Regions from separate parts of the Homo sapiens genome. Here region 1 is linked to region 2. The links are contacts of gene promoters, found by promoter capture Hi-C in blood cells and fetal thymus (Javierre and others, 2016). All regions are on one chromosome and are shown on one strand. The core of a region is centred on a gene start or on the middle of the fragment in contact, and the rest is flanking DNA. Distances in the headings are between cores, read along the strand shown.

The links. The method cuts DNA at HindIII sites, captures the fragments that hold promoters and counts their contacts. A CHiCAGO score of 5 or more calls a contact.
Region 1: a fragment that was not itself captured here is called in contact with the fragment with the promoter of ZNF561 in region 2 in 1 of 17 cell types (fetal thymus); the score reaches 5.5 in fetal thymus.

The regions. Positions count from the first base shown.
Region 1 is chr19:9,584,650-9,592,157 of GRCh38, reverse strand. It overlaps LOC105376914 (a long non-coding RNA gene), which reads left to right. Exons shown (of 2, transcript XR_936311.3): 2 at 1,419-1,689. Among named protein-coding and RNA genes, the nearest start is that of ZNF121, 3.9 kb to the right of the region's middle. RefSeq lists enhancers at 2,077-2,723, 7,264-7,508. The HindIII fragment of the contact is 1,971 bases long and covers 5,250-7,220 here.
Region 2 is chr19:9,615,838-9,622,584 of GRCh38, reverse strand. ZNF561 (zinc finger protein 561) reads left to right here and starts at 1,353. Exons shown (of 6, transcript NM_152289.3): 1 at 1,353-1,423; 2 at 3,003-3,153; 3 at 4,406-4,494; 4 at 5,414-5,540. The coding sequence starts at 3,129. It overlaps ZNF561-AS1 (ZNF561 antisense RNA 1), which reads right to left and starts at 1,103. Exons shown (of 4, transcript NR_122038.1): 1 at 940-1,103. RefSeq lists enhancers at 1,024-1,443, 1,592-2,174. The HindIII fragment of the contact is 2,809 bases long and covers 1,001-3,809 here.

The DNA of each region.
Region 1 (7,508 bases), core at 4,986-7,485, 35 kb after region 2:
CCATAGAAAGGTTCGACCAGACCTAGGAGAAACCCCCTTCTGGACTGGAGGGCACTTATTCATAGATGGTTCCTCCTGGGTGATTGAGGGAAAAAGACACAATGGGTATTCAGTGATTGATGGAGAAACTCTCATAGAAATAGAGTCAGAAAAATTGCCCAACAGTTGGTCTGCTCAAATGTGTGAGCTGTTTGCACTCAGCCAAGCCTTAAAGTACTTACAGGACCAGGAGGGAACTATCTATACCGATTCTAAGTACACCTTTGAAGTGGCTCATACATTTGGAAAAATTTGGACTGAACGAGTTCTCATTAATAGTAAAGGTCAAGACCTTGTTCACAAGGAGCTGATCACCCAAGTATTGAATAATCTTCAGTTGCCGGAAAAAATAACTATTGTCCATGTTCCCGGACAACAGAAAAACCTCTTTTGAAAGTCGAGGAAATAACCTAGCAGATCAGGTAGCCAAGCAGGCTGCTGTGTCTTCTGAAATGCATATTTTTCACTTAACTCCCTACCTCCCTCCTCCTACCATAATCCCCATTTTCTCTTCCACCAAAAAAGAGAAACTAATAAACATAGACGCTAAAGAGAATTCAGAAGGAAAGTGGATGCTGTCAGACCAGAGAGAAATGTTGTCCAAACCCCTTATGAGGGAAGTCTTATCCTAACTACATCATGAGACCCACTGGGGGCCCCAGGCCATGTGTGATGCAGTTCTCAGAGTTTATAGTTATATAGGAATTTATACTCTGGCCAAACAGGTTACAGATAGTTGCTTAGTATGTAAGAAAACTAATAGACATACTATAAAAAGATTACCTCTCGGGGGAAGGAATCTGGGCTTAAGGCCATTCCAAAGTATCCAAGTTGATTACACAGAAATGCCTCCAATAGGTCGTCTAAAATATTTACTAGTGATAGTAGACTACCTCACTCACTTGGTTGAAGCTGTCCCCTTTTCAAATGCAACAGCCAATAATGTAGTTAAGGCCTTAATTGAAAATATAGTACCCAGGTTTGGACTAATAGAAAATATTGACTCAGACAATGGAACTCATTTCACCACACACATTATTAAAAAGCTATCCCAAACATTAGACATTAAATAGGAACACCATACTCCCTGGCACCCACCCTCATCAGGGAGAGTAGAAAGAATGAATCAGACTCTAAAGAACCACTTAACCAAATTAGTCTTAGAGACTCGATTGCCATGGACCAAGTGTCTTCCTATCGCCCTGCTGAGAATTCAAACTGCACCACGGAAAGACGTTGGTCTTTCTCCTTATGAGATGCTCTATGGATTACCTTATTTGCACTCCACTGCTGATATTCCTACCTTTGAAACAAAAGATCAATCCTTAAAAATTATATACTTTGTCTATCTTCTATTCTCTCTTCTCTTAAAACTAAAGGTCTATTAGCACAGGTGCCACCCTTAGAGTTCCCAGTGCATCATCAGCCTGGGGATCATGTCCTCATCAAGAGCTGGAAAGAGGAGAAGCCTGAGCCAGCCTGGGAATCTCATTACTTACTGCTCCTCACTACTGAAACCGCAGTCCGCACGGCAGAGAGAGGATGGACTCATCACACCAGAGTCAAGAACGCGCCACCACCTCCAGAGTGGTGGGCCATAGTCCCAGGGGAAAACCCTACCAAACTAAAGCTAAGAAGAATTTAACTGTCTTTCATCTATTCTATTACTCTTTCTTCTTTCCTCGCTCTGTTGCTGACCATCTAGTTATTAACATAACCAAGTCAATTTTGCCTCAAACTGTTGCATTTAATGCTTGCCTTGTTATACCCTGTGGGGATTTGTCAAGTCAAAGGCAGCTCACTACTTCAGAAAAGCACCTCTGTCCCTCCTGGCTCTCCTCAGACTGGGCATTAGTGAATTAGGACCATTTAATCTGGGAGATTTCCATAAAGATCCCAGTGGAAACCAGGAGTCTTGACCCCAACCCCCGATGTAGAGCTTTTATGCCGTAGTTGGTCCAACGTTCTGTGGACCACCAAAGAGCAAGGATGGACTGCCCTAACCAGTTTTTGGAATTTCCTAAAACCATACATTCATTTACTAAAGGGACAGCCCCCCCCAACTGTCAGCCAAACCAGTGCAACCCTATACAGGTTAGTATTTTGAGCCCCAAAGTTCTCCTTTTCTAAGCCAGTTCCTTTCTTTAAGCCGGTTTTATGGTATAGGGGCTGAGGTTTCAAGGACAGACCCTACTGGATTCTTTGAAATGCGTTTCTTTGATCTCCCGCTGCCTGCACCTGCCTCTTAGCCTTTTTCCAAAACCTCTCACAACGGAACCATTGTTCCTCCTCCATCTAAGGACAAGGCCATGATAGCGATGGTAGAAGTTAAAGACTTAAACTTTGGCAATTGAGACAGGATACCAAGATGTAAATACCTGGTTGGAATGGATCAAATATTCCATCCGCATGTTAAACAAAAGCAATTGTTATGCTAGTGCGCACAGCAGGCCAGAGGCCCAGATTGTCCCCTTTCCACTAGGGTGGTTCTCCAATAGACCGGGCATGGGCTGCATGGTAACTCTTTTCCAGGATTCTACAGCCTAGGGTAAAGAGTCATGCCGACTCTCTGTCTCTGCTATATCCTGAAGTTCAACAACATGCTGGTCAGCCCCCGAGGGCCATCCAGCTTCCATCTCCCAACATTAAGTTCACTTCGTGTCTCTCACAACAGAGAGGAAACTTAGTGTTCCTTGGAGACCTGAAGGGATGCAGTGAGCTTAAGAACTTTCAAGAGCTTACCAATCAGTCAGCCCTTGCTCATCCCTGAGCGGATGTGTGGTGGTATTGTGGTGGACCTTTACTGGACACTCTGCTGAATAACTGGAGTGGCACTTGTGCTTTAGTCCAATTGGCTATCCCTTTCACCCTGGCATTTCAGCAACCAGAGGGAGGAAAGATAAGACTTCGTAAAGCAAGACAAGCCCGTTATAGGTCTTTCAACTCTCACGGCTATTTAGATGCAATTGGAGTCCCACGGGGAATACCAGATCAATTTAAAGCCCAAAATCCAATAGCTGCAGGATTTAAGTCAATATTTTGGTAGGCGACAGTTAATAAAAATGTAGATTGGGTGGGCCGGGCGCGATGGCTCATGCCTGTAATCCCAGCACTTTGGGAGGCCGAGGCGGGCGGATCACAAGGTCAGGAGATTGAGACCATCCTGGGTAACGCGGTGAAACCCTGTCTCTACTAAAAATACAAAAAATTCACCGGGCATGGTGGCAGGTGCCTGTAGTCCCAACTACTCAGGAGGCTGAGGTAGGAGAATGGCATGAACCCAGGAGGCGGAGCTTGCAGTGAGCCAAGATCGCACCACTGCATTCCAGCCTGGGTGACAGAGTGAGACTCCATCTCAAAAAAAAAAAAATGTAGATTGGGTAAACTACATCTATTACAACCAACAGCGATTTATTAACTACACTAGAGATGCTGTTAAAGGAATAGCTGAGCAATTGGGGGCTACTAACCTGATGGCTTGGGAAAATAGGATAGCTTTAGACATGGTATTAGCAGAAAGAGGAGGAGTTTGCATCATTATTAAAACTCATTGTTGCAACTTCATCCCAAACAACACGGCCCCTAATGGAAGTATAAGAAAGGCATTGCAAGGCCTGACTCCTCTATCCAATGAGTTGGCCAGCAATTCAGGGGTAAATTACCCATTTACAGAATGGCTAGAAAAGTGGTTCGGTAAATGGAAAGGAATAATAGCCTCAATTCTCACCTCCCTTGTAGCCGTAATGGGTGTACTTATCCTTGTCAGGTGCCGTGTCATACCATGCATCTGTAGGTTGGTGCAGAGGCTCATAGAAATGGCACTTACTAAAACCTCCTTTAACTATCCTCCACCTTATCCAGAGAAGCTCCTTCTTTTGGAAAATCAAGCAGAACAACTAAGTCAAGACATGTTAAATAAGTTTGAAGAGAAAGCCATAAAAAAAATGCAAGAGGAGGAAGTTGTTGAAAATGAATTATAAATTTCTCTTCAAAGAATTAATATGTCAGTATGCTCAATTCTTTGCCTTCTACTTTTAAACTTAACTTCCTCATAAAGCACCCTTTTCCCAAACCGCTCACTCCATCACTCTCTTTAAATTAGTCAATCGGAATTAGTTTAGCCTGTGAGGTCCAACCCTAGCCAGTAGGGGAACGACAGAGCAGTAGGGACCACGTGTGTCAGGAATAAGAACCCCTTTCCCTCCCTTGTCCAGGTGTGTGCCCACCATTGCTCCATCTGTGAGAGTGCACCCTTCTATAGAAGTATCTTGCCTTGCTGAGAATTAAAAAGAAAATTTTATATTCAAGTGTTATTTCTTTTGTGGCACCAAAACTTTATATGTGACAGACTGGAAGTTCAAGAGCAGCCTGGGCAACATAGAGAGATCTCTTCTCTACCCAAAATATTTTTAAAAATTAGCTGGATGTGGTGGTGTACATATGTATTCCCTGGTACTTGGGCAGGAGGATTACTTGAGCTCACAAAGTAAAGGCTGCACTGAGCAATGATAACGCTACTACACTCCAGCCTGTGTGACAGAGTGAAACCCTGTCAAAAAGAAAAAAAAAAAGTAGAATGTGATTTTAAACATCAGAACTAAACAGAATGATATGCTCAGAGAGGTTTCCCTATCCCTATCCTCTCCATTTTGTTCTTATCCCACCATTCTGTTCAAGCCCTTCCCATCTATCCCCGATAGATTCTGAATCTTATTATTTTCAGGATAGTCCTATCAGTGTTTCCCTGTACTCAGAATGAACAGATAATTACATATTTTATTTTTATTTTTTTGAGACTGAGTCTCACTCTATCGCCCAGGCTGGAGTGCAATGGCGCGATCTTGGCTCAATACAACCGCCGCTTCCCGGGTATAAGCAATTCTCCTGCCTCATCCTCCCGAGTAGCTGGGATTACAGGCGCCCGCCACCATGCCCGGCTAATTTTTGTATTTTTAGTAGAGGCGGAGTTTCACCATGTTGGCCAGACTTGTCCTTCAGAACTTTTTAACTGGAAGATATGCTGCCAGGCTGCTGAGCATCGTCACTTAGTCATATAAGCCCCCTCTTTGATTCCCCTTCTCCTCTGGGAGTCTTTCTTCCTTTCCACCCTTTCTGAGCAGCGACCCACAGGTAGAAGCCTGTGGATATTCTCTTGCTGTTTGCTACCTCCCGCCACTCCTTACCTGTCAAAGCACATCCCAAATGAAGCTTGTGTGCTACTGCCGCCTTGTGGTCACGTCTTTTTCCTTACTCAGCCAAGAAATCACTTACACCCTGAATGCGTATATGGTTTTATTTTTCACATTTAGATCCCTAGTCCATTTAGAGTTTATTCTTGTATATGCTGTGAAGTATGGATTTAATTTCATCTTTTCTCTGATGGCTACCCAGCTGTCTTAGACTTTCCATTACAAATGGCTTTTTTTGCCTCATTGATCTGAAATACCTTTTTTTTTTTTTTTTGAGATGGATTTTCACTCTTGTTGCCCAGGCTGGAGTCCAGTGGCGCGATCTCGGCTCACTGCAACCTCTGCCTTCTGGGTTTCAGCGATTCTCCTGCCTCAGCCTCCCGAATAGCTGGGATTACAGAAAGCCCACCACCATGCTTGGCTAATTTTATTTTTGTATTTTTATTAGAGACAGGGTTTCACCATGTTGGACAGGCTGGTTTCGAACTCCTGACTTCAGGTGATCCTCCCGCCTCAGCCTCCCAAATTGCTAGGATTACAGGTATGAGCCACCGCGCCTGGCAAAATACCACATTTATGAACCAAATTCCTACATGTTCTTGGGTCTGTTTTTAGATATTTTATTAGTCTGTTTCTGCTTCATGTGCTAGTACCACATAGTTTTAATTATAGAGGCTTTATAGTATGTCTTATTTATTTTTATTTTAATATAATTTAATTATTTGCCTTGTGTGAAAACTGTTAATAGTATGTTTTAACATCTGCTGCTCATCATTGCTTTTGTTTTTGTTTTCTTGGTTATTATCAGATATTTATTCTTCCACATAAACTTTAGTATCAACGTACCTAACTCCAGAAAAAACTTTTAATATTTTTACTGGGATTATGTTACATTTCTGAATAAACCTGGGGAGAATGTCTGGTGTCAGTGCTATTTTACAATGTAGGAAATGTGGTCCTGGCCCATGTGGGAAGATCAGAAAAATAACAATAGAAATACATGTTTTTGGCCAGGCGTGGTGGCTCACATCTGTAATCCCAGCACTTTGGAAAGGTGAGGCAGGCGGATCATGAGGTCAGGAGTTCGAGACCAACTGGGCCAATATGGTGAAACCCTGTCTTTACTAAAAATACAAAAATTAGCCGGGCATGGCGGCGCCTGCCTGTAATCTCTGCTACTCAGGAGGCTGAGAGAGAAGAATCGCTTGAACCCGGGAGGCAGAGGTTGCAGTGAGCAAGATCGTGCCACTGCACTCCAGCCTGGGCAACAGAGCTAGACTCCATCTCAAAACAAAAACAAAAACATATTTAAAATTTTTTTTAAACAGAGACGGGGTCTTGCTGTATTGCCCAGGCTGGTCTCAAACTCCTGGCCTCAAACGATCCCTTGGCCTCCCAAATTGCTGGGATTATAGGCATAAGCCACCATACCCAGCCAGAAATACATACTTGATGAAGACAAAAAAAAATCAAGATTTACAGAAAATATTATTATATTGAAAACGTGGCCGGGTGCGGTGGCTCATGTCTATAATTCCAGCACTTTGGGAAGCTGAGGGAGACAGATCATTGGAGGTCAGGAGTTCGAGATCAGTCTGGCCATCATGGTGAAACTCTTCTCTACTAAAAGTACAAAAATTAGCTGGGCGTGGAGGCAGACATCTGTAATCCCAGCTACTCGGGAGGTTGAGGCAGGAGAATCACTTGAACCCGGGGGGCAGAGGTTACAGTGAGCCGAGGTCATGCCACTGCACTCCAGCCTGGGCAACAGAGTGAGATCTGTCTCAAAAAAAAATAAAAAATGAAAAAGAAAAACGAAAAAAGAAAACGCAATGGAACCAGCAGGTTCTAAAAAATAAAGAATGAAGAAATAAAGGCCTACAGAAAGCCTGACTGAATAGAAGAGATAGACCATGCCATTCACTGGCAGCTTTATCCATATGGAAGAATCATGGAAAGGCTCTAGGAACATGAGATGTATACAAACAAGCTTTATATATATGTATACACACATATATATTTTAATAAAGGATGTTGCTATTTTGCCCACGCTGGTCTTGAACTCTTGGACTCAAGCTATCCACCTGCCTTAGCCTCCCAAAGTGTTGGACTTACAGGCCTTAGCCACTGTGCCCACCTGGGAAAAGCTCTGCAGGAGCATCCCCTGGGGTGCGTCCCATCCCCCACGCCCGCCCTTCCAGCAGGTCCGGCCACCTGAACCGCCGGCTAGCCGGGTCCCACCTCTAAACCGCCCCCAAGTAAGGGCCTGTCCGCGCCCAC
Region 2 (6,747 bases), core at 104-2,603:
CTGGACACAGCAGTAGGTTGGAAGCATCAGGTTATAAATGACCCTATCTCCTTTGTTTGGTGTACTCTCGTGGCAAAACTGCTGGTGAGTATACCGTTTCTGCAGGAAGTAAAAATGGCCTTGCTGAGTAAATTAAATTTATGTTCAAGTGCTAATTTCTTTATGGCACCAGGGAACAAGCATTTTGAACATGTATATTTATATATTTTTTATATATTTATATATTTATATGTATTTATACATATATGTTTATATATATATATATAGAGAGAGAGAGAGAGAGAGAGACAGGGTCTTGCTACTTTGCCCAGGCTGGTCTCAAACTCTTGGACTTGTAGAAAATGAAATAAATACAGGTTCCTCTTCAAAGGGACTTTCCTCCCAGTCTGATTGAAATAAATAGTAATCCCTCTTAGAAGCCAAATTTTCTCAAAGACCTGTGGTAATATTGTTAAATTCTGCCAGCCGTAATAAAGAAATCAATAGACTCTGTTTTTAGCTCCCACATTTTAGCCTAGATATTTGCCCTGGCATGCCTGAACTGGTCCAAGCAACTATTAGGTCATGGCCTATTCCTTTCCCTATTTAGAAGTGTTTTTGCCTCTCTCAACAGTCCACAAGTTACTTCCTCTCTTCCTTTGTTCTCCTCTGCCATTGCCTCTTTTGGGAAGTTCTAAGTTGCTAGCCAATCCAGTGAAGTACAGGAAGGTGAGGTCCCGTTCCAGCCAATGGAAGCTGGACACAGCAGAAGGATGGACACTTCAAGTTTAAAAAAACCCTGTCTCCTTTGTTAATGTGTGCTCTGGTGGCAAGACTGCCAGCCAGTGGCACCCATTCTGCAGAAAGTAAAACTAGCCTTGCTGAGATCCTTTGTCTCAGTGTTGATTTTGTGACACCAAGCGAGCACCCATTCCCAGCAGACTCAAGCTATTTACCTACCTTAGCCTCCCAAAGTGCAGGAATTACAGGCGTGAGCCACTGCGCTCGCCCGATAAAAGCTTTGGAGGAGCATCCCCCGGGGATGCGTCCCATCCCTCATCCCCGCCCTTCCAGCCCGACCGGCCACCTGAACCACCGGCTAGGCCGGGTCCCTCCTCTAAATCACCCCCCGAGTACGAGCCCCTCCCCTCGCCCACAGTTCCGTCTGGAGGCCCGGTTCTAACCTCACCTTTTTCTCTGGACCTAGTTCTGCATCCCCCTCCCTGAGCCAACCCCAGGCCCTTTCTGCACCCACCCGAGAGGAAACTAGAATTTCTGTGTTCTACCCGGTCCTACGTGGCTGAAACTGGAGCCCACGAGCCTCGCCCGGCCAGAGTGTTGAAGCGGAAGTGACGTCAGCGCACCACCGCCATCTTTTCCGGCGCTGGCTCCTCTCCGTCAGTGCGGTTTCGCCTTTATGGTGGTGGAGTCTGCCCAGGCTGTGGTGAGTTCCACCTCCTTGGCGGTCCCGGGGATAGCAGGGGGCGGCAAAGGAATGATTGCGCGCTGTCGCCTAGGAGCCTCTCAGATCCGCTTCACTTCACTCGCTTCTCCAGGGACTATCAGTCCTCCCTGTGCGTCCAGTTCGGAGAGGCTGCGCGCTCTCTCGGCTCACTGCAACCTCTGCAACCTCTGCCTCCAGGGTCAAGCAGTTCTCCTGCCTCAGCCTTCCGAGTACCTGGGATTACAGGCAAGTGCCACCACGCCCGGCTACTTTTTCTATCTTTAGTAGAGATGGTTTTGCCATGTTGGCCAGGCTGGTCTTGAACTCCTGACCTTAGGTGATCTGTCTGCCTCGGTCCCCCAAAGTGCTGGGATTATAGGTGTGAGCCACTGCACCCGGCCGACTTTTGAAAATTTTAGATTTTGTTCTTAAGTCATCTTAGGTACGTAATGAAGTTATCAATAACACACGTGGCTGGTGACTACTGAATTGTTCTGTGCAGGTCTGCACTGTCTTCTGGTCATATGGCGGGGGGGTAACACCATATACAGGAGATCAGGCTCTAGGGACAAGTATCAGACCGACTACTAGGGTTGTTTGAGTGTAGGTTTTTTTCAGTATTAAATAGAAGTAATGGGCCAGGCATCGTGGCTTATGCTTATTATCCCAGCACTTTGGGAGGCCAAGTCAGGAGGATTGTTTGAGCCCAGGAGTTTGAGACTAGCCTAGGCAATCTGGTGAAAACTTGTCTCTACTAAAACTACAAAAAATTAGCCGGACCCAGTGGTGTGCACCTGTAGTCCCAGCTAGTTGGGGGGCTGAAGTGGGAGAATCACTTAAGGCCAGGAGTTCAAGACCAGCCTGGCCAATATGGCGAAACTGCGTCTCTACTAAAAATGCAAAAATTAGCCAGGCATGGTAGTGCATACCTGAAATCCCAGCTACTCGGGAGGCTGAGGCCTGATAATCGCTTGCACCTGGGAGGCAGAGGTTGCAATGAGTTGAGATCATGCCACTGCATTCCAGCCTGGGCAACAGAGTGAGACTCTGTCTCAAAATAATAATAATAATAATGAGTGATGATACGCACCTATGGTCCCAGCTATTCAGGAGGCTGAAGTGGGAGGATCACTTGAGCCCGGGAAGTCTAGGCTACAGAGAGTTGTGTTAGTGCCATTGGATTTCAACCTGGGCAACAGAGTGAGACCCTGTCTCGATAGATAGATAGATAGATAGATAGGATAGATATAGATAGATAGATATAGATAGATATATAGATAGATAGATATAGATAGATAAATATAGATAGATATAGATAGATAGAGGTAATGATAGCTACTGGGAAGGATGGCTATGATAATTAACTGAGCATGTATATATAAAGCTACTAGAGCTACTTCTGACATATCAGTCCTCAGTAAATGTCAGTTACTGTTATTAATACTTTTGTTACTGAGTGACGGTACTGAGTGGGCAATTTTTGGTGGCCTTCACATCTGTCACCTGCAGAGACAAAGCTCAGGCATAATGTTTGATGACTGATGTTTCATGCTTGTTGTTTGATGATTGATATGAACAGGACCGCAAATAACCCTGTACAAAGAGGAATGGAGATTGCCTCTATCCACCTAGATTCATAAGCTGGCCTGAGGTGATCTTGGCATCAAGGAAGGGATGCACATCATCACACCATCAGCTTCAGAGAATGGCAGCCATTTATTTGTCCCGTGGTAAGTCTTTGTTGATGCTCTTTTTCAGAGATTCTGCTTTAGGTCACCCTCCACAACACAAGCGTCCAGTGAGCTGAGCCTGAGCAGGCATGCAGCTGGTTCTTTTAGGAGGAATTGAAGTGAACCACAGAACAGAATGCTGTTTTATTATTTATTTATTTATTTATTTATTTTTGAGACAGAATCTTGTTCCGTCACCCAGGCTGGAGTGCAGTGGTGCAATCTTAGCTCACTGCAACCTTCACCTCCCAGGTTCAAGTGATTCTCTTGCCTCAGCCTCCCAAGTATCTGGGACCACAAGCACATACTGCCAGACCTGGCTAATTTTTGTTTGTTTGTTTGTTTTTGTTTTTGAGACAGAATCTCACTCTGTCTCCCAGGCTGGAGTGCAGTGCCTGTGGTCTCGACTCACTGCAACTTCTGTCTCCTGGGTTCAAGTAATTCTCTGCCTCAGCCTCCCATAATTTTTCTATTTTTAGTAGAGATGGGGTTTCATAATGTTGGCCAGGCTGGTCTCAAATTCCTGACCTCAAGTGATTTGCCCGCCTTGGCCTCCCAAAGTATTGGGATTACAGGCATGAGCCACTGTGCCCAGCCAGAATGCTGTTTTAGAATTCAGCCCTGGTTTGTGTACCTTAGGAAATGCTACATAAGCTTCATGAGTGTTACTACTATGGGCAGATAGAGAGTCACTTTTTTTTTTTTTGAGACGGAGTCTTGCTCTGTCACCCAGGCTAGAGTGCAGTGGCACGATCTCGGCTCACTGCAAGCTCCGCCTCCTGGGTTCACACCATTCTCCTGCCTCAGCCTCCTGAGTAGCTGGGACTATAGATGCCCACCACCACATCTGGCTAATTTTTTGTATTTTTAGTAGAGATGGGGTTTCACCGTGTTAGCTAGGATGGTCTCGTTCTCCTGACCTCATGATCCACCCGCCTCGGCCTCCCAAAGTGCTGGGATTACAGGCATGAGGCACCGCACCTGGACGAGAGTCACATTTTTCAGGGTGTAAGTTTCCTTGAAAAATGAAACTATTACCCTTTACCCAACAGGCAGTTTGGCCCAAGTCTGCTTTTGTGTCTAGCTGACACAGGACTTACTATGGCATTTCATGGAAGTGTTGTGTGTGTAGTTTTCTCGAGTGTGTAGGAGCATATCGGAATTTCAAGCTAGGATGGAATGACTTCTAGGCATGAGAATGTGGGAAGGATGGGCAGCTCTGGCTTCTCATGCCTTCTTACTTTTCCACTAGGGTTTTTTTCCAGGGAACCAATCTGCCCTTTTGAAGAAAAGACAAAGGTAGAAAGGATGGTGGAGGACTACCTGGCAAGTGGTTATCAGGTAAGCAGAAAACGTACTGTTGTTAAAAATGATATGCTTTCATCCAATAGGTAGACAGATTTCTTTCTAGACAGACTCATCTTCAGAGTTTTCTTAGAGCAAATGAAGCCTTACTCAAGGACTGAGTCCCCAGATGAATTTCCCCAGGGAATGAAGTCTCCTATACATAAAATGTTAACTTGAAAATCAGTCCAGTAGCTCAGTAATTACTACTTAAGCTTGACCTTCATGGTGCCAACTGCATCTTTCTTACATTGCTGGGTGCGGTGACGGATGATAAAGCAGATGAAAGTGTCCTTTTATCAAATCATTCACTTATCAGCATTTATCAGGTATCTGCAGTGTGCTGAGGAGTGTGCTGCATAGACACCAATGGGACAGGAAGAGCTCCTAGCCTGGTTGTGCTGAGATCAAGCGTAAGCAGTGTGCAGTGGCTCATGCCTGTAATTCCAGCTACTCAGGAGACAGAGGTGAGAGGACCACTTCAGCCCAGGAGATCGAAGCTGTAGTAATCAGCAGTTGTGCCTGGGTGACACAGTTGGACCCTGTTTTTATATATAAATAAATAAACAGATTAGATAGATGATAGATAGAGGAAAATTCATCTTTAGGAAGTACTGTTCTAATCAAAATAAAAATAAAATTTAAAATTTAAAAATACAAATATTAAAAAATTAAAAATAGATCAGCAAAAAAAGATTTAAAAAAATTTTAAAAAGTGCTGTTTAAGGCATATGCCTGTAGGAGGTCAACCTTGAGTGTTTAGACACAAGAGCTCCTGAGACATTAAACCCTGGAGTAGATCATGGGAGACCTGACAACCACGTGTAAGTGAGTATAAGGTTCCCCTTCATCATTCTCCAGTGAATATTGGTGGAAGTGTTCATTGGCTCAAACCAGCATGTGTATGATGACATAGGATTCAGTGACGTTTGATGATGTGGCTGTGGACTTCACCCCAGAGGAGTGGGCTTTACTGGACACAACTGAGAAATACCTCTACAGAGATGTGATGCTGGAGAACTACATGAACCTGGCCTCTGTGGGTAAGAGTAACATCACTATGCTTGGCATGGTGGCCTGCACCTGTAGTCCCAGATACTTGGGAGGCTGAGGTGGGAGAATCGCTGGAGCCTGGGAGTTTGATACTAGCATGGGCAACATTGTGATACCTTGTCTCTTAAAAAAAAAATTCTAGGCCGGGCGCAGTGGCTCATGCCTGTAATCCCAGCACTTTGGGAGGCTGAGGTGGACGGATCACAAGGTCCAGAGATGGAGACCATCCTGCCTAACACTGTGAAACCCCGTCTCTACTAAAAAAATTCAAAAAAATTAGGTGGGCATAGTGGCAGGTACCTGTAGTCCCAGCTATTCGGGAGGCTGAGGCAGGAGAATTGCATGAACCCGGGAGGCGGATCTTGCAGTGAGCCAAGATCACACCACTGCACTCCAGCCTGGGTGACAGATTGAGACTCCATCTCAAAAAAAAAAATCCTAAAAATGAAGACTAGGCCGGTTGTGGTGGCTTACATCTATAATCCCAGCACTTTGGGAGGCCGAGGCGGGCAGATCACATGCGGTCAGGAATTTGAGACCAGCCTGGCCAAAATAGTGAATCCCCATCTCTACTAAAAATACAAAAATTAGCCAGACTTGTTGGCAGGCACCTGTAATCCCAGCTACTTGGGAGGCTGAGACAGGAGAATTGCTTGAACAAGGAGGCAGAAGTTGCAGTGAGCTGAGATTGCGCCACTGCACTCCTGCCGGGGCGACACAGTGATACTTCGTCTAAAAAAAAATACATTAAAAATAAAAATAAACACTAGCATCATTTCTTGTAGCCTGTTATAGGGCAGATGTATGTTACATGCTTGCTTGTCAATTCTGAAAACAGTGGGGAATAACAGAGACAGTCCCAAAGTAACAGTCCCTGCTGTAGTATGTTTTAATTTACTGTGGTAATCCTGGAAACTTCATCAACAGCATCAGCTTTGTGCTGTAAGAAATATACATCTTCCTTCCCCTATTCTTTGATGTAGTAAATTGGAAACTCCAGGGTTGGAGCCCAGTCATCTGTGTTTTCAGAATCACTGAAGGTGAATCTAATATACTATCATGTTTGAGATCCAGTGGCAGAGTTGTTTACCCATGACAGCAAGCATCTTTTTGTAGTACTTAACTTTATTTCTGCTTTTTTTTTTTGAGACAGAGTCTCACTCCATCACCCAGGCTAGAGTGTAATGGTGCCACCTC